5 separate regions of the Homo sapiens genome follow, and regions 1, 3, 4 and 5 are each linked to region 2. Evidence: promoter capture Hi-C in human tissues and cell types (Jung and others, 2019). All regions are on one chromosome and are shown on one strand. The core of a region is centred on a gene start or on the middle of the fragment in contact, and the rest is flanking DNA. Distances in the headings are between cores, read along the strand shown. Region 1 overlaps RNF114 (ring finger protein 114). Region 2 holds the start of ZNFX1 (zinc finger NFX1-type containing 1). Region 3 overlaps SLC9A8 (solute carrier family 9 member A8). Region 4 overlaps SLC9A8 (solute carrier family 9 member A8). Region 5 holds the start of MIR12122 (microRNA 12122).

Evidence for each region. Contacts are between HindIII fragments. The study calls those that stand out against the background at their distance.
Region 1: a fragment that was not itself captured here is called in contact with the fragment with the promoter of ZNFX1 in region 2 in 1 of the 25 tissues and cell types used here (dorsolateral prefrontal cortex).
Region 3: a fragment that was not itself captured here is called in contact with the fragment with the promoter of ZNFX1 in region 2 in 1 of the 25 tissues and cell types used here (aorta).
Region 4: a fragment that was not itself captured here is called in contact with the fragment with the promoter of ZNFX1 in region 2 in 1 of the 25 tissues and cell types used here (small bowel).
Region 5: a fragment that was not itself captured here is called in contact with the fragment with the promoter of ZNFX1 in region 2 in 1 of the 25 tissues and cell types used here (dorsolateral prefrontal cortex).

Annotation. Positions count from the first base shown.
Region 1 is chr20:49,947,694-49,953,649 of GRCh38, reverse strand. RNF114 (ring finger protein 114) reads right to left here. Exons shown (of 6, transcript NM_018683.4): 5 at 4,295-4,402; 6 at 1-1,574. The coding sequence ends at 1,509. Among named protein-coding and RNA genes, the nearest start is that of RNF114, 14 kb to the right of the region's middle. The HindIII fragment of the contact is 6,868 bases long and covers 1-5,896 here.
Region 2 is chr20:49,276,037-49,281,518 of GRCh38, reverse strand. It overlaps ZNFX1 (zinc finger NFX1-type containing 1), which reads left to right and starts at 3,462. Exons shown (of 14, transcript NM_021035.3): 1 at 3,462-3,498. It overlaps ZFAS1 (ZNFX1 antisense RNA 1), which reads right to left and starts at 3,341. Exons shown (of 4, transcript NR_036658.2): 1 at 2,803-3,341; 2 at 2,311-2,415; 3 at 949-1,034. It overlaps SNORD12C (small nucleolar RNA, C/D box 12C), which reads right to left and starts at 2,574; the gene lies at 2,496-2,574. SNORD12B (small nucleolar RNA, C/D box 12B) reads right to left here and starts at 1,206; the gene lies at 1,104-1,206. It also overlaps SNORD12. RefSeq lists enhancers at 2,758-2,957, 2,833-3,127, 2,885-3,385, 3,386-3,886, 4,228-4,287 and silencers at 3,048-3,407, 3,458-3,687. The HindIII fragment of the contact is 7,798 bases long and covers 1,894-5,482 here.
Region 3 is chr20:49,876,066-49,882,265 of GRCh38, reverse strand. SLC9A8 (solute carrier family 9 member A8) reads right to left here. Exons shown (of 16, transcript NM_015266.3): 12 at 4,203-4,285; 13 at 1,231-1,342. Among named protein-coding and RNA genes, the nearest start is that of MIR12122, 15 kb to the right of the region's middle. The HindIII fragment of the contact is 5,664 bases long and covers 1-4,257 here.
Region 4 is chr20:49,846,612-49,852,701 of GRCh38, reverse strand. SLC9A8 (solute carrier family 9 member A8) reads right to left here. Exons shown (of 16, transcript NM_015266.3): 6 at 3,022-3,123; 7 at 1,858-1,892. Among named protein-coding and RNA genes, the nearest start is that of MIR12122, 14 kb to the left of the region's middle. The HindIII fragment of the contact is 4,181 bases long and covers 2,614-6,090 here.
Region 5 is chr20:49,862,214-49,868,467 of GRCh38, reverse strand. SLC9A8 (solute carrier family 9 member A8) reads right to left here. Exons shown (of 16, transcript NM_015266.3): 9 at 5,401-5,539; 10 at 3,624-3,729. It overlaps MIR12122 (microRNA 12122), which reads right to left and starts at 4,609; the gene lies at 4,515-4,609. RefSeq lists enhancers at 319-368, 609-718. The HindIII fragment of the contact is 4,214 bases long and covers 2,264-6,254 here.

The sequences.
Region 1 (5,956 bases), core at 1,213-3,712, 670 kb before region 2:
TGAACTTCTTCCAGAAATTACAGTGAACAAGCTGACCTTAACTTTTGGGTCCTCCCGAGAAATACTAATGAAAAAACTATTTTTTTCCAGTGGGCCCTGTGTTTGCTGGCTTCTCGGCATCTGCAGCTCTTCACCGGCAGGCGCGGAGCCCCACAGCAGCAGTGTACAAGCGCGAGGTAGCACTTGCAGCCCCATCAGAGACATATGACATCAAAAAACCAACCTAAACCCATATGCCTTTTGGTCAATCAGAGGTTCTGCTCCTACAGATTAGGCTGACAGCTCTTGGACTTATATTTATTAATATTTGTGAAATATGAACTCCAAGGTTCTTGAGCTGTTCCTAAAGCAAGTTTCCAGCAACAGCTTTTATTAACAACTGTTCATCTTGCGATGTGCTGTGCCTTATGAACGATGTCTCGTCAGAACAGACCAGGGGTGGTACTGGGTTTCCTATAGCTTCTCTCTGCATCTACAAAGCAGGTTTTCAAACACATTTTACATGTCGAAACCAGTGTCATAAGGAAAACATTTGTGACAGAAAAACAATGCTCAGTTTAATCTAAGTTACCAAGCAGAAGGTAAAAGAACTAGTATCCGCTGAGTCCCCAAACCTCTTTCTTCTAATTCATCTGAGGATTTTTTGTGCTTCTAGAACAAGAATGTAGGCAGGCTCCCAAATGGAGAGGTAAACATGACCGCGTTGTTTGAAACTACTTCATTAATTTGTAAATCAGAACCAAAAAGCTCTGGCCCTCCCACTTCTCTTAGCTGACCCTCCTCCCCACTTACGGATAAACAGACTTTAACTTCCCTAACCCAGAAACACTTCCACCAAAAATGTATGGTTATACCTTATCCTAAAAAGGCACCATGCAGGCATTTAAGACTGAACCAGTGAACTCTAAATATGTAGTAGTAGAAAATATCACTAATCAAAACTTCCAGCATCAGATGGTACAAAACCCCAAGAGGACTGGTGACATGTACCCCGGGATGGCAACCCCAGCTTCTGGCAACCCCACAGCCCAGCGGGAGCTTCAGCTCTGGTCAGGTGCACGGCTGCCAAAGTCTGCACACCTTGGGGACAAGGAAAGGAGACACTTGCTTCATTGTGCTATTCATGACCCAGAAAAGGTCCTGGCTGGCTTGAAGGACCCGAGAGACAAACACTGGATGGGAGGAATGAGTGTGAAACAAGAGGTGGAGAAGCTAGATTATCTTCCACAGGAGGCGGCAGAAGCTCCAGGAAGTAGCCGAGAACCAATACGAACTCGACCGTGTGACAAACAAGGTTAACAGTAGGGGAAGACAGCTTTGGCAAGAGCCCAAAGGGAAGAGAAGGGCTGACCTGGGGACCCACTTCCCCTGTCAGAAGTGACCCTGTCCCAATGCCATGGCTCATTTTCAGGTCTGTTGAACAGGTAAGGTACAGGAGTCATAGATTTCACGTTTAATATGTAATGGAAGCTCTGTAACATGAGACAGATAGCAAGCACGGACTCTGCTCACTGGTCGATGATGGAGCGCTGCAACACCTGATTCATCATGTCCTCTTCATCAACATCATAATCCTAAGGGCAAAAAGAGACATGCAGCCTCAGCAACTGTTTCTAGATGCAAAGACTGGCTTTCAGTAGAAGCAGGACAGCCTAGCAACTGGATCCGGAGCAGGTTGCCAGGGACCGGATCCCCAGTGCAACTGTTTGTGATGCTAGGTATGTAACTTTGGGAAAATTAATCTGTCTCTGCTGCCTTCTCTTTTTTTTTATTTGATGGAGTCTCGCTCTGTTGCCAGGCTGGAGTGCAGTGGCACAGTCTTGGCTCACTGCAACCTCTGCCTCCCAGGTTCAAGTGATTCTCCTGCCTCAGCCTCCCGAGTAGCTGGGACTAACAGGCGTGCGCCACCATGCCCAGCTAATTTTTATGTTTTTAGTAGAGACAGGGTTTCACCATGTTGGCCAGGATGGTCTCAATCTCTTGACCTCGTGATCCACCCGCCTTGGCCTCCCAAAGTGCTGAGATTACAGGCATGAGCCACTGCACCCAGTCTGCTGCCTGATTCTTAAATGAAGTTAAGGATGCCTCCCTTAAATGGAGATTGAGAAACCCAGACAGCACACGAATGGAGGCTGGCACAGACCAAGTGCTCAGAACATTTGTAAGTCTGTCGGAACAGAGCACGCAGATGCACTGAGCTGAAGAGTTGTTTCTGAGAGGTGGAATCAGTGCACAGTACAGAATCAGATTTTTAGAGCCATACAATACAGCAGAAACTATAGCGCAACTAGCCCTCTTTAATGAGTCATTTTTAGGACTCATTTTTAATGAGTCATTTTTGTTAATGTGACACAGATGAATGTAATTCATCTGTGTCACATTAACAAAAAGGGCAGTTATTCTGAAGTCTGAGTTTCAGACACTGTCAGACTGAGAAAAAATATTCTTTATGACAATTTAGCAGAGAGCTTTCTTTCTTAGATACTGAAATTCAGCCATCAAGACCGAATACCACTCTAAAATCCTAACTTGACATCTATATATGTAAGTAAGAGGTTTACTTGATATAGTTGGCCAAAGTTACCTACTACTATAATGGCAAGACAACAGTGTGCCCCTTTGAAACCATCCAGCTCTAGGGAAAGAATATAAACCTGACAGCCGTATTTGGCTAGTGGATATATGCTATTTGACCTGAAGTATTTTTGAAGATAATTAAAACCTGTGAAACCTCCTGTGAAATTTTCCTGTCCTGCTTGGGCATGGGGGGTGGAGAAGCTAGGCAATGCTGCGCCTGCATTTCCATAGGAAAACAAGGTGATGGCAGCATAACGAGTCAGGCACCACCTGGCTTGGAAATCCTCAGGAGGATCATTTCAATTATGGTCCCCATGGACATGCGAGATTGAGCCTCCCAAGTCCAAATTGTTGTTGTGTGTGTGTGTTTTGTTTTTTTTTTTTTTTTTTGAGACAGGGTCTCATTCTGTTGCCCAGGCTGGAGTGCAGTGGCATGATCTCAGCTTGCTGCAACCTCCGTCTCTTGGGCTCAAGAGATCCTCCTGTCCCAGCTCCCTCAAAGTAGCTAGGACTACAGGTAGGAGCCACCACACCTGGTTACTTTTTGTATTTTTTGCAGAGACAAGGTTTTCCCATGTTGCCCAGGCTGGTCTCGAACTCCTGAGCTCAAGCGATCCACCTGCCTCAGCCTCCCAAAAATGCTAGGATTGTAGGTATGAACCACTGCACCGCACCTGTCCCCAAACCAAGTTCTATAACAGGCAGAAATTATATAAACCACAAGAAAAGTAGACAAAAATTTGGTGGCAGGGCTAGGAGATGGAAAGAGCAAGTATCACTGTCTCTGTCTCAAAGACTGACCAGATCATCTTCTTGTTTGTTTTGAGACAGTCTTGCTCTGTTGCCCAGGCTGGAGTGCAGTGGCACGATATTGGCTCACTGCAACCTTGCCTCCCAGGTTCAAGCGATTCTCCTGCCTCAGCCTCCCAAGTAGCTAGGATTACAGGTGCCCACCACCACACCTGGCTAATTTTTTTGTATTTTTAGTAAAGACGGGATTTCACTATGTTGGCTAGGCTGGTCTCGAACCCCCGACCTCAGGATCCGCCCACCTCGGCCTCCCAAAGTGCTGGGATTACAGGTGTGAGCCACTGCGCCCAGCCCAGATCATCTTCTTAAATGTCACTCTGGGCCGGGCGTGGTGGCTCACGCCTGTAATCCCAACACTTTGGGAGGCCAAGGTGGGCAGATCACGAGGTCAGGAGTTCGAGACCAGCCTGGCCAACATAGTGAAAGCCTGTCTCTACTGAAAGTACAAAAAGTAATGGGGCATGGTGGCATGCGCCTGTAGTCCCAGCTACTCAGGAGGCTGAGGCAGGAGAATCACTTGAACCCGGGAGGTGGAGGCTGCAGTGAGCTGAGATCACGCCACTGCATTCCAGCCTGGGCGACAGAGCAAGACTCCATCTCATGTAAGTAAATAAATGTCACTCTGGCCACCTGCCTGGCCCATGAATAGAAACTGTATAGTAGCTACAGTATACAGACTGGAAGCCCATCTAGCTCCCCAGCTACAGCTGCCTGCCCGCCTCTTCCACTCAGTCTTCTTTTCTCTCTTGTCAATCCCCTTTATCACTGTATCCAGTATACAGACTGGAAGCCCATCACAACAGCGACAAAGTTCAACACTGGGGATCCCCATTTCCCCTTTTGAGAAGAGTGAAGTAGCCGTGCCACTCCCCCAGGGGAGGGATCAGAGCCCAGGCTCCAGACTTACCACAAAAGTGTCATAAGAAAACCGGTGCCGGCGCTGGATGTGCTCTCTGAAGTTGGCGCTGCGGTAGTTGGGGTCTCCCCAGGGCATCGAGGCACATATCGGACAAACCTTTCAACACAAAAGCAAGGTCTTAGGCACCCAATTTCCAAGCTTGCACCAGCCCTCTGTGGCCTGTGTCTGGCCTCCTTTCTTCCAGGACAGCTTTCCTGACATACTGTCCAGGGCCAGTAACTCCTTCCTGTGCACATCAGCAGCCCAAAAAAACACTGCAAATTTCCAGCTCAAGTCAAATGACACGTGGGACTGGGTAAAGTTCAAATCATGATACCACCCTTTCTCATTCCCTACTGTAAGCAGAGAAGTGAGTCAGCCTGGTGGGGGGCCTAGACTGGCCTTCCAATCCAGCACACAAGACAATCCAAAAGCATGAGGAAAACTAAGAAAATAAGCCGATGAGCAATGTCCCAGGGAAGTAAAACACAGCCTTACATGCATCTTAACAAAGGAAATGCTCAGAAGAGGGGGATCAGGCTGAAAAGCCCTCACACAAAAGGTTGATTTGGTTTTTGAAGATTGGGAAGTATTTGGAAAGGCAAAGAGGACATGAAAGAGTGCTCCAGGCCGGGCACAGTGGCTCACACTTGTAATCCCAGCACTTTGGGAGGCCAAAGCGGTAGATCACCTGAGGTCAGGAGTTTGAGACCAGCCTGGCCAACATAGTGAAACATCTTCTCTACTAAAAATACAAAAATTAGCCTTGCATGGTGGCACACGCCTGTAGTCCCAGCTACCTGAGAGGCTGAGGCATGAGAATCGCTTGAACCCTGGAAGTGGAGGTTGCAGTGAGCCAAGATTGTGCCACTGCACTCCAGCCTCCAGCCTGGGTGACAGAGTGAGACTCTGTCTTAAAAAAAAAAAAAAAAAAATTGTGCTCCAGAAGAGAGGCAGCAGCACGGAGAAAAGGCCAGAAGGCGGCAGTTACTGTCAACACATGTAAACAACCAGACCAGTGAGTGCAGAAAACTCATGCCAGGGAGAGAGAAGACCTAAGTGCCCCCACTTAAAGGTGGAACCCTACCCCACAGCAAGGAAGATACAGTGATAAAGGGGATTGACAAGAGAGAAATCTGGAATGGTAGAAGACTGAGTGGAAAAGGTGGGCAGGCAGCTGTAGCTGGGGAGCTAGAACATAGGGTGGGACTAGAGACTGAAAAGGAGATGGCTTCTAAAGGGAAGGGAGAAACGCAGAGTTAAGAACTTGCAGAGGGCCGGGCGCGGTGGCTCACGCCTGTAATCCCAGCACTTTGGGAGGCCGAGACGGGCGGATCACGAGGTCAGGAGATCGAGACCATCCTGGCTAACACGGTGAAACCCCGTCTCTACCATAAATACAAAAATTAGCCGGGCATGGTGGCGCGCACCTGTAGTCCCAGCTACACGGGAGGCTGAGGCAGGAGAATGGCGTGAACCCGGGAGGCGGAGCTTGCAGTGAGTCGAGATCGCGCCACTGCACTCCAGCCTGGGCGACAGAGCGAAACTCCGCCTCAAAAAAAAAAAAAAAAAAAAAAAAAAAAAAAAAAAAAAAACTTGCAGAGGGAGAGGAAGACAGAACAGAGGGCCAAAGGCTGAAGAGAAGGCCTCAACATAGACAACATAATCAGA
Region 2 (5,482 bases), core at 2,213-4,712:
TCAACTTCCTCATACCTTCCTGCTCCGAGTTACCCGTTCTATAAACAACTTCTCCGGCCAATCTCAACCTGTAACCTGTTCCCTATTTGGAAAAGTCCCCCTCACTCCTAGCAACCAGCTCTGTAAACAAGTTTCCTGCCCTTCCCACAGCTGTAACCCACATGCCTCCTGTTTAAAATAGCCAATCAGGACTAGTTTAGATTGCGCTGTCGACTCCAGCCAATGGGGATAGGACACAGAAGCAGGGACTACTTGTTAGGAATAAAAACCCTTTCTCTCTTTTGTTAGGTGTGCTCTTGCCAGGAATGCCAGCAGCAGCACCCTACGGCAGAAGTAAATTTGCCTTGCTGAGAAATCTTTTGTTCAAGTGCTCGTTTTCTTTGGAACTCCAAGCTCTTATTTCCAACAAAGACCTAGTAATACCAACAGGCCAATGTCAGTCCTAATGACTTATTCTCCCAGTTTTATACCCAACTTGGAAATGGGTCCTGAGGTTAGGCCCAGTTGGACAAATTTTGCGGTGGGGTTTGGCAGATAGAAAGCAGAAACCTCACCTGTTACAAGGCAGACTGAATCAAGCCAAGATCAACACACACTGGTACACGTGGCTCCCAACCTATAGAAAGTTAACAGGTCAAAAGAAGCCATCTGAATGCTGGAAAAAATAGAGAAAGCCCAGTTCCCATGAACAAGCAATAGTCTCTGATAAAGATAAGCAGAAAACAAAGATAGGAGTTATTACTGGGGCCAATGCATCAGACAAAACTGGCCAATAGTGTAGAGATCAACAGGGTCGATCTGATGGGGAAAGAAGCTGTATCATCAGCTGCAAAGGCCACATTTGAGTCGTACAAGAAGTAGGGTGACAAACCCACACTGAAAAGCAGCTACTACCCCCTCCAGAGCCTGTGTCTACTCAGCCAGGGAAGACGTGTTGGCACCACTTACCAATTTTATATGTATATATATATTCTACTTCCAACACCCGCATTCATCCTGGTTCAATCAAAGCCTGGTTTTGGCCAACAATAAACCTGAAATGAAAAAACAGAAAAATGAGCTCCCATCAGCTAGATGCCCAGGGGAGCTGGGACAAAGGAGCTGCTCAAGCTGGCATATCAGACAGAAACTGGCTTAGAAAAGTTAGATCAACATAGTCGATCTGTCGGGGAAAAAAGCTAAGTCATCATATATGCCAGCAGGAAGTTCTTGAGTGAGGAGTAAGATTTGAAAGCCATGAGGAGTAAGATTTGGTTGGTATGCTTCATATTTGCAAATTTGCATTCGGTGTTTGAGCACTTCTGTGTTGTATCCTGTAGCTGGCAATAACTTGGTAGCCAAACCAAACACCCCTGTCTTCAGTGCTTACACTCTGAGTACAGGCCCATGATAGAAGCCAGTGTGGCTGGAAGAGTTGAGGAAGTAGTTGGCATTTACTGAGTTGGGAAGTGAACAAGTACCAAGAGATTGCATTTTAACACAAGTTACCACAAGTTACCTGACAAAAGAACAATCTGGAACAATAAGCTTCACATGTGTTCCCATGAAGCCCAGACTTTGTAAACGCCTCACTCCTGGACTCTAGCAAAAATATTAGTTATGTAGTCGGGCACTGGTTTGAGTGGCTAGTTCAACAGAAAAACACATTTGGCTTTCCAAAATATGTCAATAAATCATCCCTCCACTTGGAAATTTAAGCGCCCCAACACACAGGAAGAATGGAATCCAAAAATATGTTTAAGTGGCATTAAAATGTTAAACGCCTCTTCACTAACAAGGTTCTTTCACTTCAGGCATTTCTCTTAAACCTGTTTCTTCACCAGAAACCTAGTTCCAATATTTGAACTGTGAGAATAAAACATTCAGAACATGTTTTTCTTTTTTTTTTTTTTTTGAGACGGAGTCTGGCTCTGTTGCCCCGACTGTAGGGCAGTGGCGCAATCTCAACTCACTACAACCTCCGCCGCCCGGGTTCGGGCAATTCTCCTGCCTCAGCCTTGTGAGTTGCTGGGATTACAGGCGCGTACCACCACGCCCAGCTAATTTCTGTATTTTTAATAGAGTCAGGGTTTCACCATGTTGGCCAGGCTGGTCTCCAAATCTTGACCTCAGGTGACCCATCTGCCTTGGCCTCCCCAAGTGCTGGGGTTACAGGCGTCAGCCACAGCGCCCGGCCGTCAGAACACTTTTTTAAATACCTAATAAATGCTCGATAGAAAGTGCTTTGTTAAATCCCACGTTTTCCTAGAAAACTAAAGCTTCTCAAAGCACGTGTTTTCTACAGTAGACCCATAGGAGACAAAGACTTACTCGTCAGGAGATCGAAGGTTGTAGATGTCTGCACGTGGCTTCCTTGGAGGTCCAGTGGTGACTCCCTCTTCCAAAATCCATTCTGTACCCGCTGGCTGCTCTAACCTGTGAACCAACAAATAAAGGGCGTTAACCGCCATCTTCCCACGGTCAGAAACGAACAAGGCCGGGCCTTTTGAGGCCGATGTATCAGAACTAACTGGCAAAATATAAGACGTCAGCATTGTCGATCTGATGGGGAAAAAAGTGAAGTCATCATTTACACCAGCCAAGGGCTTCTCAGGCCCGTGCAGAAGGCAGTGGCTTTTCCAGCTCCAGAAACTCATTTCTCCCACGCCCTTAAGGCCTATTTGGGGTCAGAGACGGAGAAGCCACGAGAAGGAGATTAGGGCTGGCCGCAGAGACGACGGCACAAAGAAGGGAAGGGAGGACCAGAGGTCTCCAACGAAGAACATGGAGTTTCCACTCACCACACACAAAACGGGAACTTACGGGCAGGACAATAGCGTATGAAGCCTGACTGCAACTAGGAGAAGTACCACACTCCGGGCACCGCAGACGCGAAAGAACGAATGGCTTCCTGAACCTCCCTTATATAACCAAAGATGGCTTTCGCACCTGCGCACTGGACCCGAAACGCTCTCTTTCCCGCCCGCTCCGCGCGCGTCGCTCTGGGAAATGTAGTCTCGAGCAGCACAGCCCGAGGCGCTCTAGTAGTTGTCCAGGCCGCGTCTAGCCCCGCCCCCTTCCCTCTACACGCCGGGCCACCCGGGCTTGTCCGCTTCCTCGCCATGTCGCGCTTCACACGCACCAAACCGCTCGACGGGTTCCCCTTCCTCTGGGGCCGGCTGAGGCCCGCAAAGGCCTTGGGCGCAGTCATCTCCCGCCCCCCGCGGTCCGCTCCCCTCAGCCGCGCCCGCCTGAGCCCGCCGGCTCCGCCGCCGGGGGGAGCTGAGGTGACGCCCTCCTCGAGGGCGGAGGCGCCGGCCGTGCCTGGGCCAGGCCCTCGTGCTCTCCACCCTGGGCCCCCGCCTCCTCCTTCTCCTCCTCTGGGCCGCCCGCCCGGCTCCGCCCAGGGTCTGCGGGGAACGGAAACCGAAAGTGCGCGGCGCCGGGCGGGGCCACCGACCTGCCTGGGCCGAAGCCCCAGCACTCGCCGGCGGCAGTGAAAGGACGCGCCGGAGCCGGGTGAGTGGCCCCGCAACTGCCCCTGCCCCTGATTCTTCCTTGCCTCGCCGCGAACCCCGGCGCCCGCGCCGACCCGCCACTGCCTCTGCCCGTAAGACCTGTCACCCTCTCAAGCCCCCAACGCACCCGTCACCCGCTCAGAGCCCCTGGCCCCTCAGCGCCCCGTCGCCCCCTCAATCCCCAGACCCCCATCACCCACTCAGAGCCTTGTCACCTCTTTGGCCCCCAGCGGCATCAGCACCCACTCAGAGCGCCTCTCAGCGCCCCGTCTCCCCCTCAGACCCCAGACCTCCATCGCCTACTCAGCGCCCCGTCACCCACTCAGCCCCTGGCCCATCTCAGCGCCCCGTCGCCCCTTCGGCTCCCCTGTACTCTCTTTAGTGTCCCCATCCCCTCAGCTGGCCCGTCGCTCTCCCCAGCACCCCCGACACCGTCACCGCTTCTGCCCTCAGCACTTCGATCTCCTCTGCCCCTACCCCTGTCTGTGCCCTCCCTTCTGCCACTCGCACCCCCCTCATTCCTCCGGCCTCACCTCCTGTCACCTTATCAATCCCCCTCTTCTACAGAGCACCTCGGCACCCCCTTCAGCCTGCTCCCTGCCCCCACCCCGCCGCCTCCGTCCTCAGCAAGCACCCCCTGGTGCTCGCTACCACCCTCTCCCCAAGGCCCCCATAACCCCGCCACCTCACAGCCTTGGCGCTCCCTGACCCCATAACATTTCCATTAGGGACCGTGGGCTCCCTGGGTCAGGGATTCCCCAGGACCCTGGAGACTTCCCCCAAACCCAGCTCTGCCTCCGACCTCAGCCTCCTGCGTCCCACTCTGGTGATGACTAGCCCCTCTCATTCTGACTCCAGGCCAGCTTGATCATCACTGATTTTCTTCTTCGTGCCCTTTAGGCCTTGATTCCCCCCACCAAAAAAAAACACTTCAGTCTGTTTTCGATCCCAGCATTTCCTGTTCATGTCTACTCCTCCCTTCCTTCCCTTGCCTTTTTTTTAACATCTTTTTTTCTTTTCTTCCGTTTCTTTTAAATTTTCTGGAGTTTCTATTTTAGCATTTTTCAACAAGGGGAAGAAGGAATTTTCCCCTCGGAGAATTGAAAATAAACAAACAAACTCTAAATACTGAGCCTGCGCCAGGAGGGCTGGGTTTGATAAGATGAGGGAGGGGACTCACCAGAGATATTCCCAGGGGGAAGAAAAGAGACTCCTTTTTCAGATGAGGAAAAAAGCTGCCCCTCATATAATGCCAAATGTAGTCACAGTTTCCAATTATGAATATTTTAGAACTCAGTGAAGACAGTCTCAAAAATCCCTTTGCTGAGGACTCTGAGTCACCCACTCTTTCCTTAGCCCCAGCCCACACCATGTGTATGAGTTGGGTTGAGAAGCTCCCTTAAAGGGGCTTCCTCTTCCTCTTACAGGACCAGTGTCAAAAATCACCAAGGTAGAAGAATGAGGAGGAAGAAAGAATATCAGATTTCTAGCTGGTCCTGAGGAAACAGCACCTCGTAGTTGCCAAACCTCCTGGTTATTGAAACATGTAATTTCTTTCTCTTGATTCAGTAGAGCAGAGAGCTTAATCATTTGGCTCCATTCCAAAGAGTAGGCTAAGGGGATAACTGCTCACTAATTATTTATAAACTGTAGGGTACTGCAAGCTATTGGGTACTATATAAGTGGCAGATATGTAAATGCCAGATAAGGTGGTGAGCACATGGTTTTGGATTAACAAAAATGTACTCCTTTTTGTCCTGGCAACAATATTGTCTGCTTCTTAGGAAAGGAAAATGAAACCTAGCAACTGATTAAGTAACTTGGCTAAAGGCATAAACCAAACAGCAGTTTTGAATGGGAATTGATGACATTCCCTCTACCCCAAGAAAGTGCCAGGGTAAAAGAAAGGGGAATTCTATCTCTTGAAATCAGCTAAATTGTGAATTTAATATTTTATATCATAATTGGGCATTTGCAGAGTCGAG
Region 3 (6,200 bases), core at 176-2,675, 600 kb before region 2:
GTGGACAGGCGGTGAAGAAGTGGAGAAAATGAGCGAGCACGGCTCACTCGCAAGGGTCTGGCCATGGCAAAAGAGGTGCGGACACAGCTGCGGGGGACATGAGGAGGAACTCTGGCTGAAGTTGCTGGTGTTTTGTGGGAAGGAGGAGAAGCTCTGATTGCTTAAATGATGATGGGAGGGGCCGGTAGCAGAGGCTTGTTCAGTGCCCCTCGTTGAGGATCCAGGAAAGCCTGGATGGAAACCCACAGAGCAAGAGCCCGGGGAGCCTGGGAGAGAACAGGAGCCGACAGCCCCCGCCATTTCAAATACACTCCAACCTTCCCCATAACGCTCTCTTATCCTCATGCCCCCCTTCCCAAATAGCCCACATCACTTCAAAAACCTCTGACACACTTCTGCAACCATTTACAAAGTAGTTTGCCTCACTGGCAAAAGAGATTAGGAAAAAAATGAGTTTTTCTCACCACATATAAATGTATATGTATATATACACATACGTACATATATATGAAACATATACATTTTTAAACATGGCCTTTTGAAAGAAGAGAAATCTGAGACAAACTTGCAGATATGCCTTTGGATAGAGAACATTATAGTGTGTTGCTATAACCCAACCCACACGGAAAATACTTTGATTATAATATTTAAGCAAGAAAGCATAAAGAACAGTATGTATTGCTCAAAAATAAATTTAAGGATGCCTATGGATCCAGTTCTTTAGAAGCAAAGATGTATGAAATCATTTCCGTCCTTTAAAAAGTGATTAAATAGCAACTGAAACATTCAAATTAAACTACTAGAACTTTGTGACTAAAAGGAAAAATATCCAAAACTAACATAAGGTATGAAACAGTTTCAACTTTCACCTTTTCTACCTTGAGACCATTATTACTTCAGCCTAGAAGACCCCCAGGGAGGCGCTGAAGCACGCCCAGCTGCATCCCGGACTGCACTATGGTGTTCAGAAGAGAGTGGCAGAAATCCCGGCTCTGCCTCCAGTGGTCACGTGACCCTGGGCATGTTGTTTGCCCTCTTCCAACCAAGCCTCACCCACTTCATAGCACCATGGTGAGGGGCACCATCTTGATTGCAGTGGGTGCCATTAAACGGGAGTATTGATTACTTGTGGTTTTGCCAAGGGCGCTAGCAGAGAACCACAGCTCTCCCTGTATGGGGCGTGCTTTTAACAGGTACTTCCCCACCCCATTTATCCAAGATTTGACTTACCACTAAACCACATGATGAACATCATCTTCGGTGTGATTTTATGATCCCGGAAGAAATTCAGGAGGTAGGAAAGAGGGAAAATGTTTACCGCTCTGCCAAATAGTACAAGCACCTGTTGATAGCAACAAACTAAGTCTTAGGTGAAAACATCTGGCTCTTCAAGCTGAAGCTTCTTGGATGAAGCTAATGCAGACTGTGTAACACATCCAGTACAAATGCAGTATTCCCCTCAGCCACAAAAGACACGAGCAACACCATGCTCGTCAGAGACCCAGCATGGGCGTGCTGCCACAGCTGCGGGATTCTATGCATCTAGGAAAGGATAAAGCTTTGTACGTTACCTTTCTTAGTAGCCAGAAAAGAGAGGACGGACGAGGTATCAGGAAGGGCTTTAGTAATGACAGCAGAACAAAACTGAATGCCAAGAGGCTGTACAGAAGTATTCACAGATTAGTTTAAGGGCAACCTGACTCCCAAGGTGCCCCTCCTTGGGACAGGGCTGCATTGATCATACCAGGACTAGGGGGACAGACAAGGTGTTTCTGCCTCTCCCTCAGGGAAAGGAGGGCAGCTATGAAGGACCTCCCATGCATGGAAACACTGCTCTCTGAGCAAGAGGAACGCAGAGGTAGGGACTATCAGGAGGCCACATGCCCCGGCTTAGCCTGCCAGCTGCTTGCTGTGGCTTTTGGTTCCTCTCCATCTCCAAAGGCATGTTAGTCTTGGCAAAGTACAGCTTTATGTAAAGTTTACATCTTTTTTTTTTTTTTTTGAGACAAAGTCTCACTCTGTCTCGCATGCTGGAGTGCAGTGGTGTGATTGTGGCTCAATGCAACCTCAACCTCCTGGGCTCCAGTGATCCTCCCACCTTAACCTCCCAAGTAGCTAGAACTACAGGTATGCACCACCATGCCTGGCTACTTTTTAAAATTTTTTAGTTAAAGATGAGGTCTTGCTATGTTGCCCAGGCTGGTCTCAAACTCCTGGTCTCAAGCAATCCTCCTGCCTTTGCCTCCCAAAGTGCTAGGATTACAGGTGTGAGCCACTGCACCCAGCCTAAAGTTTAAATCTTATCTAAGTGGATTCTTAGGACATTTATTACTTTACTTTCATTTTCTTCATCTTGGTTCTCACCATAACTACTTGAAAAGGATGATATAGACATGTACAGTACATTCTTTAGGCTTTAAGTTTATTCCTTTAACAAGCATGAATTTGAGAGTTTTTTTTTTTTTTGAGATGGAGTGCTGTGGCGTGATCTTGGCTCACTGCAACCTCTGCCTCCCGGGTTCAAGCAATTGTCCTGCCTCAGCCTCCCTAGTAGCTGGGATTACAGGCGTGTGCTACCATGCCCGGCTAATTTTTGTATTTTTAGTAGAGACGGGGTTTCGCCAAGTTGGCCAGGCTGGTCTCAAACTGCTGACCTCAAGTGATCCACCCGCCTCAGCCTCCCAAAGTGCTGGGATTATAGGCGTGAGCCACCATGCCTGGCCAAGAGTAAATGTTTCCAATCATCAAACATTTCTATGCCAGACAACATGCTAATCATTTTACATGCATTATCCTGCTAAATTTAAATCCTTGCAAAGGTCTTACAAAGTAGGTATTGTTGTCTCCAGTTTATAGACAAGGAAACTGAGGTATAGAGAGATGAAGTAATTGGTCCAAGTTGACAAGGCAGGAAGTAATGGATCCAAGTCTCAAATCTGGTTCAGACCCCAAAGCCCATGCTCTTGACCACTAAATTGAGTTTACAGGGCAGGAACTGTAACCCACCTGAATAGGCCATCTCCACTAGCTGCAGGGCCAGCCTGGGCCTAACTGCTTAGAGAAAACTGAGTTGTCACCCCAGGGCATCCTTTCATTTTCCTCCCAACCTGTGGCTGAAATAGTCACCTCCCTGTTTCACCCACTGAAATCCAATCTTCCATGCCTACACTTGTTTCAGGTTTGATCAAATGTGTCCCTTTTCCCCAGTGGCCACACTAAAGGCTATTATACTTTTTTTTTTTGAGATGGACTTTCGCTCTTTTTGCCCAGGCTGGGGTGCAAATGGCATGATCTCAGCTCACTGCACTGCAACCTCCGCCTCCCGGGTTCAAGCGATTCTCCTGCCTCAGCCTCCTGAGTAGCTGGAATTACAGGCGCATATCACCACGCCCGGCTAATTTTGTATTTTTAGTAGAGATGGGGTTTCACCATGTTTGCCAGGCTGGTCTCAAACTCCTGACCTCATGATCCGCCAGCCTCGGCCTCCCAAAGTGCTGAGATTACAGGTGTGAGCCACCGCGCCCAGCCTAGGCTATTATACTTTCTGTAAAGGACTTTTGCTGCTTCTCTCTTGCCCTGAAACCTGAGTTTGGAGGACAAATAACAGTGACCAAGAGCAATGAGCTCTTGCTGACTGAGAGATGGAAGTACCCAGGTTGCAGGAACAATATCTTATAAACAGACAAATAGACAAATATAAATAGACAAATTTGAAGAAAACTGCAGTAAGAAGTACATAATAAATTATCCAGAAAAAGCAGAAAAGAGAAAGAAATCCCAACTCTATGACCACTGTGAACATGTGGCTATATTTTCTTTACATATTTTCTTTTTTCTGTGCATAATATTTTTACATGGTTATGATCAATTACATATTCAATTTTGAAATCTGCTTTTACCTCCTCACACAAAAACTTACAAACCTGTACTTTTATTTAAAGACCATAATATTCAAGGCCATTAAAAATCTTAAAAAACAAGCAAAAGTCCTTTCTGGGGATATTTATTCACTTAATTCTACCCCTGCCCCCTTACTGTATGTTTGTGATTTTTTTTTTTTAACAAAAGAAACTTTAAACAAAAGAGTGTCTATGTAGCTGTTGACTTTGAACAGTTAACAGTTACATAAATGAATCCGGAACATGTGTTTATTGATCTACAAATAAGTAATTAAATTTAAAAAAAAAAAGGAAAATACTTACTATGCACCAGATGACAAAGGAAATTTCAAACTTGTGAGGAAAACTAAAAATGGACAGGCCAAGAAATGCAAACACACATGTTTCTGAAACAAACCAAAGAATGGATTATTCAACCCCAATGATTTCATTCCAATATGGTACTAAACTATTAAGCAAGCAAACATTCACAGTCAGAATCCAATACAACACTTTCCTTATTTTCTTGAAAATCCTGCAGCCAATATCTTGGTCAAACTTGTGCTTAAATTCTCTCATTCTTTTCTATTACATAAGCTACATGTCCCTGGTATTCAGAAATCTCTTAATGTAATGAGTCAACTGTCAAATACTTCTGCAAATAAACACGATCCCACCCAGGGAAGATGATAAACACAAGAATCTGTCAATCTGCTGAACACTGTCATTAGCAAGGGCCCCAACTGCGGCAAAGTGGCAAAAATTCAGAGCAAATGACTGCAGACGCCACATGACAAATGTGAAGGGGCCTCTGGTTAACTTCCACATGATTAGCTTAATATATTTAACACTGCCACAAGGTTTAGAACACAGCTCACACCCAGCAGGATTTGCAGAGTGAGACTCATTGCTAACTCCTGGCTCCACTCTGCGAGCCAAAAAGAGCCCAATATTTACTCTCTGTCACACAAACTTGTATATATTAAGAAAAAGCACCTTATAAATTTCTAACACTAGGCTCTCTGCTTAAACTGTGATGGCCCTCAGAACAGCATAATGACTAAAGAGATTAAAACTGTATATATATTTTTTTAGAGACAGAGTCTCACTCTGTCTCCCAAGCTGGAATGTAGTGGCACGATCTCGGCTCACTGCAACCTCCGCCTCCTGGGTTCAAGCAATTCTCCTGCCTCAGCCTCCCAAGCAGCTGGGATTACAGGCGCTCGCCACCACGCCCAGCTATTTTTTTTTTTTTTTTTTTCAGTAGAGACAGGGTTTCACTGTGTTGGCCAGGCTGGTCTCAAACTCCTGACCTTGTGATCCGCACACCTTGGCCCCCCTCAAAGTGCTGGGATTACAAGCATAAGCCACCGCGCCTGGCCTAAAACTGTATTTTAAAATAGTTGATCACAAACAGCAAGGCTGTTTTACATTCTAACAATGTTTTTCCTTTGAATGGTACCCAAGTTTAAAACAAGTCCACAAGCTGGAGAATTTACCCCCCCTTCTCTCTCTGAAATTTTTTTCTTATCTAATATTTGTGTGATCTTTCCAAATGAGCACATTTAGAAGACATTCAGATCTAGTGGATGCTTTTCCCTGGCAGCATCAACTCCAGGATCTGGATACATCACGGTATCCATTTGCTCTGAATTTCTGCCACTTTGCCACAGTTGGGACCCTTGCTAATGAAGGTGTTCAGTAAACAGGCAGAATTGTGTTTATCATCTTCCCTTGGCGGGATAATGTTTATTTGCAGAGAAATTTGACAGTTTTTCTGTCACATTTGACAAATTGTCAAAATTCGACAATTTTTCTAATGCCCAATCCTCTATGGATGGATATTTAGACTGTTTTTATTTCTGAGAGGTTCAACAAACACCCCAGTATGGGCTAAATTCCACAGGGTTGGACTGTTGGGCCAAAGAGCACGTGCCTTTTAAATTCAGACAGACGTGGCAAATGACTCTCCAGAAAAGATTCCAGTAGGCCTGTTTTCCACACGCCAAGGCCAGAAGTGGGTATTATCAAACTTAACATTTGCCAAACTGCTGGGTACAAAATAGAATCTTTTTGGATGGACGATTTGCTTTATGTGTCTTTAACTGGGAGGCTCAGGGTCAGAATCTGTAGCCTGGCTTTCTGAGAGAGGTGCTGTACAAATAATACCCTCTGGCCCAGGAATAAAGAGACCTGGCCTGCATACCCACTTCTTGGCCATGAGACCATGGGCAAGTCATGTGACTACTCCTCACCTGAGCCTCCTTATCTGCTGAAGTTTCTGCCTGGGTTGCCTTTGCCTCCTAGCACGCTAACAGTGTG
Region 4 (6,090 bases), core at 3,455-5,954, 570 kb before region 2:
ACGGTTATTTCACCTGGCTGTCAGCTGTTCCACTTCACATCTTTAAGACCTCGCCTTTTAAACGCCAGAAGTTCAACTTAAAAATGTATTTTCTTTATCCCATAGCCCCAAAAGATAGCAACATTAACAAAATGAAAAAGAAATGAACTAAGGCAGCGAAATAATTCAGGATCTCTAAGAGTGAAATCTCTCTCCAACAAGATATCACTAGAACAAAACAAAACGTGTGCAACGAAGTTATTTTTATGTTTTCTACAGTGCAGAGGTTGCAAAAAGTCTGTGGTCCCCTCTCATGTTTGGTCTGCATGGTATTTGTGAAAAATTGAGCAAGTTGTCAACATTGAAAAACTGGAAAATTCCCTATAAAAATCTAGAAACCCAGCATCTTTTTGAAAAAAAAGTATTTAAAATAGCCACCAATTCTGGGCCCAGATTTCCACATGGTAATCATGAGTTGGCGCTGAGAAGTGGCTGTCCCTTCATACAGGGTGTGTTCTCCCACTGGCCGCTGCCCCATGTCTAGACTCACAGCTGGCCAGCTTCCCTCTGTTAAGTGCTCTGCCAGGCCCTGCGGCTGTGTGGGTTTGCGACCCCAGAGCAGTCCCCATCTGAGGGATCGTCACTTTCTAACAGCAAAGGAAACTTCTGCACACGGAGAGGAAAACACTACCCGGCTCTAAGTCAGTGTGTCTACAGGGCAATTCCTTTCCTGTCCTCCACCTGAACATCCCAACCACTGATTCAATTCAACTTCACAGGAAGTTATCCAGCATTGTCTGTATCTCTAACCAGTTGCCCCCAAAACAAGTGGAAGGTTTGAATACTGTGATACCTTCCTTTACTGGGCATTTCTTTTTATTTGCAAAATACCTACCAAACACAGGACATCAGTTCTGCTTTATTTCCAGCTCTCATGGAATAGGACTACTTGTTTATGTATCAAAACTGTCTTACAACAAAAGCTCCAAAATTGTCCTGGGCTGGGGTGGGTGGTGAGTGGAGGTAGAAATAGAATTGGATTTGTTATCAGAGACACAGTTCCCATGAAAAGGGTTCCCAGATTCTAGTCCCAAGTTGCTAAACTGCTGCTAAATCCTGAAAGCTCTGACTGGCCCCATGGCAAGGATCTGGGGACGAACATGTGACCCTGCTGCCCAGCTCCCCAGCCATGTCACAAGACCAAATGCAGACACACTGAGCAAGGCTGTCTGCTCTCAGAGGGGGGAACCCAGACTATGCTCAGCATGGGCACTTTTTCAGCACTAGATCTGGTACCTTCTGAGAGACAACTGCCTCAACCTAGTGAGGTTGCTTCTCACTATGCAATTCTGGGAAATCCTGGATGGGGCTCATGGGAAGTGCTCACGGGAGTGGCTTCAGATGGAGGGGCTTTCTACAATAACCACAATAGAGGTCTTGGCCCTGCTTCCCCCACCACAGGCTTCGTGGGAATCCCAGAGGAAAGTTTCTCCGTCACTCCCCCTCTCCATCTCTAATCTGTCAAGAAGACTTTTTGTTACGGCGACTGAAAAGTCTTGTAAATAAGAAGACAATGGTACAGTGTACGCGTGCACACAGGCAGGGCAGTTAGCTGAGCAGAGTTACTCCCTCCCAAGCTTAAACTAAATCATTCCAATCAGCAATGCCCCACTAGGGATCTTCAAAAGTCTTTAGGATACTTTTGATTCATTTCAGAGATACAAATTAACTCAGAGTAAGATTCTATGGCAGAAATCCTTACCAAAAATAAATACACAGAGAGAGAATAGAACAGTACCACACCCAGGAAGCAATGTGGAGAAACATTTCCCCTGTCTGAAAAGCAGTCGCATGGGTGTTACAGTATGAAGGATTTACCTGTCTGTCATGTTGAGTTTAGAGATTACATCAGCCTGTAAAATAAAACACACAAACACACAGACACACACAAAAAAAAAACCCTGGAGAACAGCCAAGATTTAAATGTCCATTAGTGCTTTATTAAAACTAATAAGGACATTAATCTTCAGTTCCCAAACCACTTGAAAAATAAAAGCTCCTAAGCCTTAGTTGAAACATGCATTCCATCGGCATGCAACGAGAGTATGGAAAAGAATGCTACATTCTTCAAGCCCAATTAACTGTAGTTTCCTTAAGTTTATTCTTACTTAATACTAGAAGCTGAGCAATGAAGAAAGCTGCATGACAGACAGATTTATTCTGGTGCCATCAAAGCTGCAATATAGGTGAAAATCCAATGGAATGGGCTTTGGCTATTGAGAGAAGAAAGCAGCTGATGTGTTAAAGAAATCTGCCCGTCACTCAGATACCTGACCCTCAACTTAATTTTCAGAACTGAGACAGGCAAACTTTCTGCAACTGACAATAAAGGAAAAGAATGTGACATGCATGGACATGCATAATACAAAACTACAGATACTACCTTCCTAGGGATGTTTGGTCTAAATTAATTTGAAGTCTAAAGTAGAGACCACCCAACTGGTGCCACTGGGAAGTGGTTTAGCAATTGTGGAAAATCCAGAGTATATAATTCTACAGGTAGACAGCTTAGAATTGAGTGAAGAGATTCAGCATCACCTTTGATTTTATTATTTCTCCAATGCCAGCAGAAAAGCACATCTTTGATTTTTTAAATACAAATTTTTATCAAAAAACAGCATTCAACCCCAATTCAGTCTACTTGACAACACAGTTTGAAGTTCTTGATGGCATATATTTGGCTTCATTTTTAGGTATTCTAATTTAAGACAGTATTGGTTTGCAAATAAACTCAAATACTTTGGGGGGGATTATGGAAAAGTTTTACTCAATTCCAGATACCAAAGGTCTTGGAGGACACTTTGAAACAATTTAGCACGCCTCTACTGTGCCTCATATGAAGCTAGGATTTCCTTCCAGAAGGAATTTACCTTAAGGGTGAAACCCAGGCCCCACAAAGTGGCCCCATTTCACCTTCCCACCTCCCTGCACTAGCTCTAAGAATGTAAGACTTTCAAAGTGTTTCAAAGATGATTTTCTTACCTGACCCAGAAAATAAATTCCTCCACCTACTACAAAAGCGGAGATTGCCGTCCCAAAAACAGCAAACAGGGTGATGGAACCAATATTTTGAAAGAAGTTACCCTGTTTGAAAGAGCAGAAATCAGGGAAATGATTAGAAAAGCCATTCCTGTCAGTGAAGGCACGGCCTGCACACCTGGCCCTCCGTGCAGACTTGATTCTCTGTAAAAGGCACCACTGCCCAACCTGTGTGGCAAGCTGGGAGCCCGGGAGTCTTCCTGCACCCCCGCACTTACTGCAGTGTCCCGTCACTCACACCATCTTTCATCTGAAACACTGCATAGCTTCGCACAAGTCTCCTCAACCCCCCAGGGCCCCTTTCCCTCCACTCTCCCGTCTTTCCAGAATGATCTTCCCAAAAGACAAATCTGATTGTGCTGCCTTCACCTGGACCCCTATTTCCACTTAAAATGCAGCTAGCCCCCACCCTGAATGATTCGACTCCTGGGGAGGCCTCTGGGCTCATCTGGCACCATGCTCGCCTTTGTTCTCTGGGTTCCAGTCCCACTGGTGGCTTCGAGCAGGTTGTGCTCCCTCTTTGCTTGTTAAGCTTTCATCATCCCAAGATCTCAGGACATTTCAACTCTTCCCAGATCCTAGTCTGTGCTCTCAGTGCACAGTCACCCTCTCTTGTAGCGGTTGACAAGACTGCAATTTTGCACTTATTTATGTACTGATGTCTTACTTTCCCATGAGGCTGCAGGCTCATTCTGGGCAATGACCCCACCTGCTTTCGCACAACACGGTCCCTGACATAATGCCCGTCAGATGGAAGATGCCCAACAGACAGGCACTGAAGGAATTAACTGTGTTTCACATCCAAAGTCCACACTATTAGGATACCAAGATACACTATCAGATATTCCTTTTTCCTGGCCAGGTCTTTTAAACAATTTTACTTCACTCTATTAGTATCATCATTAACTATGTCAGATAAAATGTTTCTATCTATACTTCACAGCGTTTAAGATAAAATATTCAAGTTCAAGCAGCATGGTAGCATCTTTCAAATTTCCATAAAATTAAGGAAATTAAGCTATTTATTATAACCCTATGAACTCCACTTAGGAGCTACCAAGAGTCTTTGATCACCCCCGATTGTGGTTGTGAACAAGAATCTTGTTTTTAGCTCAGAAATCACCAAACCATGGACATCAAGACCTGCTATTTTAAAGCCCACTTGTGAAAGAGTGTCCTCAGCTGAACACTGACTGCCCCACTAAGCCCACCTCCTAGAAGCTGCAATTTTGACTTGGCTGCCTATCATCTGACATTCAATTCCTTTGTTTGGCATATCAATCTTTACTGCACAAAGAATTTTAAAACACAATGATTTGGTTTTTCAAAACAAAGGGCTTTCAATCTATGAGTTGCTCTTTGCAAATCGCTGTTTTCTTTTGTTATTTAAAAACAGATTAGACTGGGCTCGGTGGCTCAAACCTGTAATCCCAGCACTTTGGGAGGCCAAGGCGGGTGGATCATCTAAGGTCAGGAGTTCGAGACCAACCTGACCAACATGGAGAAACCCCATCTCTGCTAAAAATACAAAATTAGCTGGTGTGGTTATAGACGCCTGTAATCCCAGCTACTCGGGAGGCTGAGGCAGGAGAATCGCTTGAACCCAGGGGGCCGAGGTTGCAGTGAGCCGAGTTCGCAGTGAGCCGAGTTCGTGCCATTGCACTCCAGCCTGGGCAACAAGAGCAAAACTCCATCTCAAAAAAAAAAAAAAAAAAACAGATTAATCAGTTTTGACCTGTTTGCAGAGATCTAATGTTGATATAATTTATATATTTGGTTAATATTAATCTGGATCCTGAACATTTACCCAAGTTAAAGTTACCATAATACAAGAACTTCCCTCTGCTACATAAAGCAAATTTATCTGTTTCTCTCTGACATAATTAACATCCTGTGATTTGTGTAATATTTGCAATTCAAAGAACCAGTTGCTGCCTAGCTAATGCATATCAACTGATGATAATCTTACTGTAATCTGTATTCTAAATCCAAATTTACATTAGCAGATATCATAATATTAAAATAAAATATTCAAACTTTACTTCCTATCATCTTTGGGCGAGGGTAGAAAGTGGATAGAAGTTTCAGAAGTAGCATTTCATAATCCTATCAGTCCCTTTCATATAAATTGTCACATTTCCTGCTGGAAAGTCATCTTCAACAAAATGTTTCTCTAAAAAACTATTACTTTCCTCAAATTTTGAACAAGTTTCTCTCCCCTCTAAAAAAAAAAAAAAAAAAGAAAAGAAAAACTTTACATGCTCTAATATTCAAAATGTCATGTTTTTAAGTCAAAATCAAGTCAATTTCCTCAGCATGTTTTGAAATATTTTCATATCTGCTTACAGTTAAGATTTGTTTACAAAGTGAAAGGAAAGACATGGTGACCTTCAACTTATGTTTCCTTGTTAAAAATTATCTGATGTCACTAACAGTTTGTAAGACTTGTGAATATTTTTTACATTAAATTTCCTTTTCACTTTTTCTTTGGATAGATGCACAATAAAATAATAACTTAAAAAAAAATCTGGGCTGAACATCTTAATATGCTTTTGTTTTAGTACAGGAAAATTAAAGACTTAATTTCTATGTTTTTACCAAACATTTCTAGACAAATCTAACTCATTTTTTAAAATTATGTATTTATTTATTTTATACCATGTCAACAACAAATTAAGTTTATTTTTATTTATTTATTTTTGAGACAAAGTCTCCCTCTATCACTCAGGCTGGAGTGCAGTGGCGTGATCTCAGCTCACTGCAAGCTCCACCTCCCGAGTTCAAGCTATTCTCATGATTCTCATGCTTCAGCCTCCAGAGTAGCTGGGATTACAGGCACGCACCACCACGACCAGCTAATTTTTGTATGTTTAGTAGAGATGGGGTTTCACCATGTTGGCCAGACTGGTCTTGAACTCCTGGCCTCAAGTGATCCACCCACCTCGGCCTCTCAAAGTGCTGGGATTATAGGCATGAGCCACTGGGCCCGACCATATTAAGCTTAATAAATTA
Region 5 (6,254 bases), core at 3,121-5,620, 590 kb before region 2:
ACCACCCTTTCCATCTGTGCTTTCACAGTGCAATGTGGGGCGTCCACACACCACACAGGGCCATCCTGCCCCTCTCTGAAAACCCTGCGTGACAAATACCCAAAAGGCAAAGTGCGGACAGAGCAGGTTCCCTCACCCAGAGGCAGATCTGGTGTTCCTGGCTTGCACTGCTGTGTGTGGAGCAAGGTCCCTAAGGAAATGAAACCCCTCTCAACAGGAAACACTGCCAGTCTGAAAAGAAGGTAAGAAAAACACTCCCTTATTTTAATCACAGATTCCAAACAGATGCATGAAACACATCTTTGCCAACAGGTACTCAATGATCTTCTCAAGGGGGTAGAGGAACAATTTAGAAAAACAGATGTAAAAATAGCTAGGCTAGAGCCGAATGACTCACAGGTAACGTTTTTGTAAGTGCCAACATTCAGTAAAGAAAGGGAACCTCATGGCAGACACCAGGATGGAATTACCCTGGTGAACTGGTCTGCGATGAAAAACAAAACCCTGAAAATGGTGAGTCCACTCTGCTTCCTCCTTGTGCTGCTCATGCAGCACCCAAGTGTGACTCCGGATAGCGACTGGGTAGAAAAGTTCTGTCAACTGAGTCACTAGAGACCACTGGGCCTTCAGCTTTGCGTCTGAAGAAATTACTGCTACACAGAACACTGTCCTGCTCTACATAACTAGAAAACCTGATACAAGATATGAAACAAAACTATTTTCTGACATGGGACAAAAGATAGGGTAGGACTGTGATTCCTGCCGGAAGGGAGACAAAGGTGGCCACTCTTTCCCTAGGCCCCCTGCTGAGCTGACTGCCTGAGGCTGAGGCTTTAAGAGGGCTGTCCTGTTGAGTCGGGGAAGCTGCACAGAAAGAGAGCTCTTGGACATCTACTGTAAAGTCCCCTTGAGTCTTTGACTGATACTGATCAGTAAATATGTCGGATGAAACAAGAAGCTGGGGAAAGAACCATTAAAAAGAAGTAGGCTGAACAATTCCAGAAGCTGACATGGGTGGGAATAGTTTGCGTTCCCACCAGCCAGAGTGGAGTGAGCTCACGGTACCTGAGACACCTTAGTTAGGGCCCTGCTACTCTGCACCAGCCCTAAAAAAGTTTAAATGTAAGCCTCAAGAAGGATTAAACTGATGTCAAGAGACTTAGATACGTGCCAGAAGAAAAGTCCAGAAATAACACACACACACAAAAAAAATTGTTTTTAAAAGAAAAGTCCAGAACTCCGTAAAGGAATACAATAAAATCTTGTGCTCAACAACATAAAACTTCACAATGACTGACATCCAATCAAAACTTAATAACAAGCAAAGAGCAAGAAAATGTGACCTATAAGCACAAGAAAAATCAACAACAAAACAGACCTACAGTTGACAGAGATGACGGAATTAGCAAACAAGGACATTAAAACAGCTATCAGAAATTTCTATGTTTCATATGCTCCAGAATATAGAAGAAAACATGAACATGATGAAGAGAGAAATGGAAGAAATGAAAATAACCTAAAGGGATCTGCTGTAGATGAATTATAAAATATGTAAATGAGAAATACGCTGGGTAGGATTAGCAGGAGATTCCACATGGCAGAAGATCAGTGACTTTGAAGATACGGCAACAGGAAATAACCAAAATTAAGCACATAGGGAAAAAAAGAAAAAAAGGCAAAGCATATTGTGGGCCAATAGCATGCTACCTCTCATAACTGGAGTAAACTGAAGTCTCAAGGGGAAGAGGAAGGCGGAACAAAAAAATATTGATAAAGAAATGGGCAAAAGCTTACCAAATTTGATGAAAGCTATAAACTCATATAAACTATAAACCCAAAAAACTCAATGAACCCAAGGCGAATATAAAAATAACCACACCAAAGCACATCTAAATGCAGTTGCTACACACCTATCAGGACAGCTAAACTTTTTTAAATTAAAATAAGTGTGGTGGCAATATGAAGCAACTGGCACTCTCTCATACATTCTGAGGAATGTAAAATGATACAGTCACTTCGAAAAACACTAGGCAGTTTCTAAAAAAGTAAAAATGTACTTACCATATGACCTAGCAGCCTTAATCCTAGGTATTTACCCAAGATAAATGAAAACACATGCACACTGTTCTTAGCCCAAATCTGGAAAACCCCAAATGCCCTTCAAATGATGAACAGACAAACTGTGGTGCAATAAGAACGATAAACTACTGCCACACGCAAAAACACGGATGTCTCTCAAAAACGTAACTGAAAGAGAGGAGACACAAAAGACTACGTACCACATGATTTCATTTAAACTACAATGACAGTGCAGGATCAGTGGGTGCCAGGGCTCAGGACAGGCAGGTGGACTGACTGCAGAAGGGCACAGGGGAGCCACACTGGGCGATAAGAATATGCCACACCTCGACTGTGGGGGTAGTTATGACTGTCCACATTTGCAAAAATTCATGGAACTATATACTTAGAACGGGTCCATGTATTGTGTGTAAATTATACCTCAACGAAGTTAATAAAAAAGAAAATCTCTGCCATCTTGTGGCACAGATCAAAACATCCCTGCAATAGTGCCTCCTTTCCAGAACAAGGCCTCTGAAGGGCCTTCACTCAAAGGATGGGATCAGACTTCCAGGGCAGAGCCCTTCCCAACTGGCTGCCCCCTCACACAGGAACAGGGGTGAGTCACGCTCCATTTTCAGGTCAACATCCTTACAACGTAACAAGCTGTGGACGCAAGCTTGACTGCCACTTGTAGGCAGAAAGCCCAACTAAGCCAAGCCTGATTGGGCTGCTGAGTGATTACCAGGTGACGGCTCCAAGATCATTACGCTGTGACTGGCCACCCCTCCTCCAGCTGGTGAGCATCATCTTCTAGGGCCGCATCAGAGTCGTCTCTGCTGCTGAGAGCTGTGTGCCCTCCTCCAATGGGGTGCAGGGAAAAGGCTCTGGGCCTCCACTGTCAATCTCACTACCACCACTGCTTGTGCAGTGCAGCTTTGGGCTAATGACAACCTCTTAGTACCTACTTCACAGGGCTGGTATCAGCATAAAAAAACTGAATACTGGTAAAGTGTGTCCAATAAACGCCCAACATTACGCCACCACCACACTTTGCTTGTCCCTCTATGTAGCACTGAGTACATGGTTTCATGATGATCTGTTTTGGAGGGAGTTGTATTAGAGGGTTCTAAGCACTAGTTCTTGACTCCAAGACAACTAGTTTGAATCGTTGTTCCACCAATCCCAGCTGTGACCTTGAGTAATTTACTTAATCTCACTCAACCTCAGTTTTCTCATCAGTAAAACAGGGACCTTCACAGTACCTCCCTCCTACAAGGCTACCCTCCTCTGAGGGAGCCTCACAGGACTGATGGGCTAAATGAGAGAAGGCGGGTTAAGAGAAAATGTGACCGTGACACCAATGTGACTGTTTGAGCCCCTGGATCCAGGCAGGCCTAAATCCAGATGTGTTTCTAGGGAACCAATAGATTTCCTTTATTACTTAAGCTCTTCTGAGTTGTGACTGTCTCTTGTGACTAAAAGTGACCCAACTGACAAAGCCTCTTTCCCCAGGCAGGACAAGATGCCATCACCACAGCACTTTCAGGCTCTCTGTCACTTACCTGAGAGTGAGATTCCTTCTGCAAGCCCATAAGGCAGATAAGCAAAAATGATCATCATGCCAAACTCCAAGGAAGGCGTTTTCCTCAAGTCAATATGCTTCAGCACGTAAATGACAACTGTCAAGGAAGGAGAATCGAGGGAGAGTTGATGGGAGATGTGGAGAAGTCACAAAACTGCTGCTTTCCAAATATATGAAGTAAACAACAGATATAGATTTTAGAATGTCCCAAGGTTACAAATGGAAATTTGTCATTATGGATTTTTTCCTTTGTAGGGAGACTGTTGCTATAAGAAAGGGAATCTGACAAAACACTAAGAAATGTAAATTCCGGAGATAAATGGTGGTGGAAGATGAAAATCAACCTAAGTCAACTCATTTAAAAACGCTGACTTAGAGGGCTGGGGATGTGCCGGGCCATGGCGCAAAGCTGGGGCTGCAGACACACCAAGGACAGCTCACTTGGCCAGGTTCCTCCCAGGGCCGGCATCACCCCCACTCCTCCAACAACATCGGATGAGATCACTAATGCTACCCATCTTGCTTTCCCCATCAGTTTTGAGTCAAAGACAACTAGTGAGAATCGCTGTTCAAACTGAGGTTCGAGGCCCTGTTGAAGCACAGTATTTCCTATTCCTGGAGATTTCCAAACTCATGCCCCTGTGAAAGGAGAGAGCCTTCTATATATTGAAACATCATTCACAATGCCTATACTGGAGCTCACAGTACCCATTTGCTCCACTTCATTTTGATAGATACTTTTTTTTTTTAAAGAAAAAGATAAATATAGAGGAAAATACTGAACTGGAAAAAATTTTCTTTTCCATTCTGTTTATTGGTACAATATGAGAAGCTGTCAGCCAACTCAATAGAGCCCTTAGACTTCTGGACAAAGGAGTTGATGGGAAAATTCAACAGGATGGCAGAAAAACATGCCTGTAACCAGGCAAAAGAGTCTCTTCCGGCCATCTGTGACACAAACTGCTCGTGGAGGCGGGCCAGGTGGCCATCTCCCTGAGACGTAGGCTTAGGTGCGCACCGAAGTGGTCTACTGCCTGTTACTATTTTAAACATAATGAAATTTCTACAGCAATAAAGGTGACATTGGCCTTAACAAGCCTCTTTCCATCTCCAGCTGGAAAAGCTTATTGGTTGTCAAACAACAAAATCAGTGCAAATAACTCAATGGAACACACTTTGAAAGCCCCTTTTGCAATCCTTCTGGATAAACACTTTCAGTGGGATAAAAATTTTCTCTATTTGGCATTTTATTTTTATTTATGTATTTTTTAGAGATGAGGTCTCACTATATTCCATTGCTAAGGCTGGTCTTGAACTCCTGGGCGAAAGCAATCCTCTGGCCTTAGCCTCTCAAAGTGCTGGGATTACAGGCATGAGCCACTGCACCTGGTCTATTTGACATTTTCAAAGAAAATTAATTTCCAGTTTTCCAAATGTGAAAAGTAAGATGGCAGAAAACGAAAATCATCGGAGTGTGGTTATCATACTCTGGGAACTGAGAGGTCCCCAAAATCACATCTGATATCCAACAGTGTACATGTTTTTTAAACTTTGAAAAGTGACATCCTAAATTTCACGTTAGATTAAAAAATCCTTGAGTTAGAGTGTTTCTCAAACAAAAACTAAGCAAAAAAATCCTCCTTTAAGCAAAATCTTCATCTAAAATTGGCCCCCTTAAAAAACAGGAGAAACTGGCTAGAGACAGAAGTTATCAGGAATAATTTTAACCCTGCATGTTCATCACATTAAAAGGATATTAATGCAGAAATTAAGCCAGTGAGAGTGCCGAGCGCTGCAGAGCCAAAGAACATTTTGAGGAAGTAGTCAAGGGCTTGTAAAAATGTTTGCCACCCACTGACATCTGACATATTTTTTCTTGTTAAACCTTCAGCTGTGCTAGGAAATGAAAGAAAACAGAAATAAATTAAAATGTTATATACACAAAGTTCTTAGAAATTAACTTAAAACATTTCTTGCTTATTCGCTCATTCATTCATTCATTCATACCATCATTCATTCAGTCAGCCAAACGTTTATTGTTCACCTACTTTGTCCCAGGTACTGTTATTTTCTGGGGTTCAGAGATGAGAGCAAAGCTGCTGCCCTTAAGGAGCTCCTCCCCTCAGGCTAATGAGGGAGAAAAACAAGATGAACACTAATGACAATCCGCGGGAGGGGTAGAGGGCTGTAGAAAAGCAGGGTGGGTAGGTAACTAACTCAGACTGGCCGGGCTCAAGGAAGGTGCTTGAGAAAATGTGGGCTGATGCCGGGCGTGGTGGCTCACACCTGTAATCCCAGCACTTTGGGAGGCCGAGGTGAGCAGATCACTTGAGGGCAGGAGTTCAGACCAGCCTGGCCAACATGGTGAAACCCCGTCTCTACTAAAAATACGAAAACTATCTGGGTGTGGTGGTGCACGCCTGTAATCCCAGCTACTCGGGAGGCTGAGGCAGGAGAATCGCTTGAACCCAGGAGGCAGAGGTTGCAGTGGGCCAAGATCGCACAACTACACTCCAGCCTGGGCAACAGAGCAAGACTCTGTCTCAAAAAAATAAAAAATAAAAAAGGCCGGGGGCTGGGTTTAGATTTGGGATAAAGACGACTTGCCCAG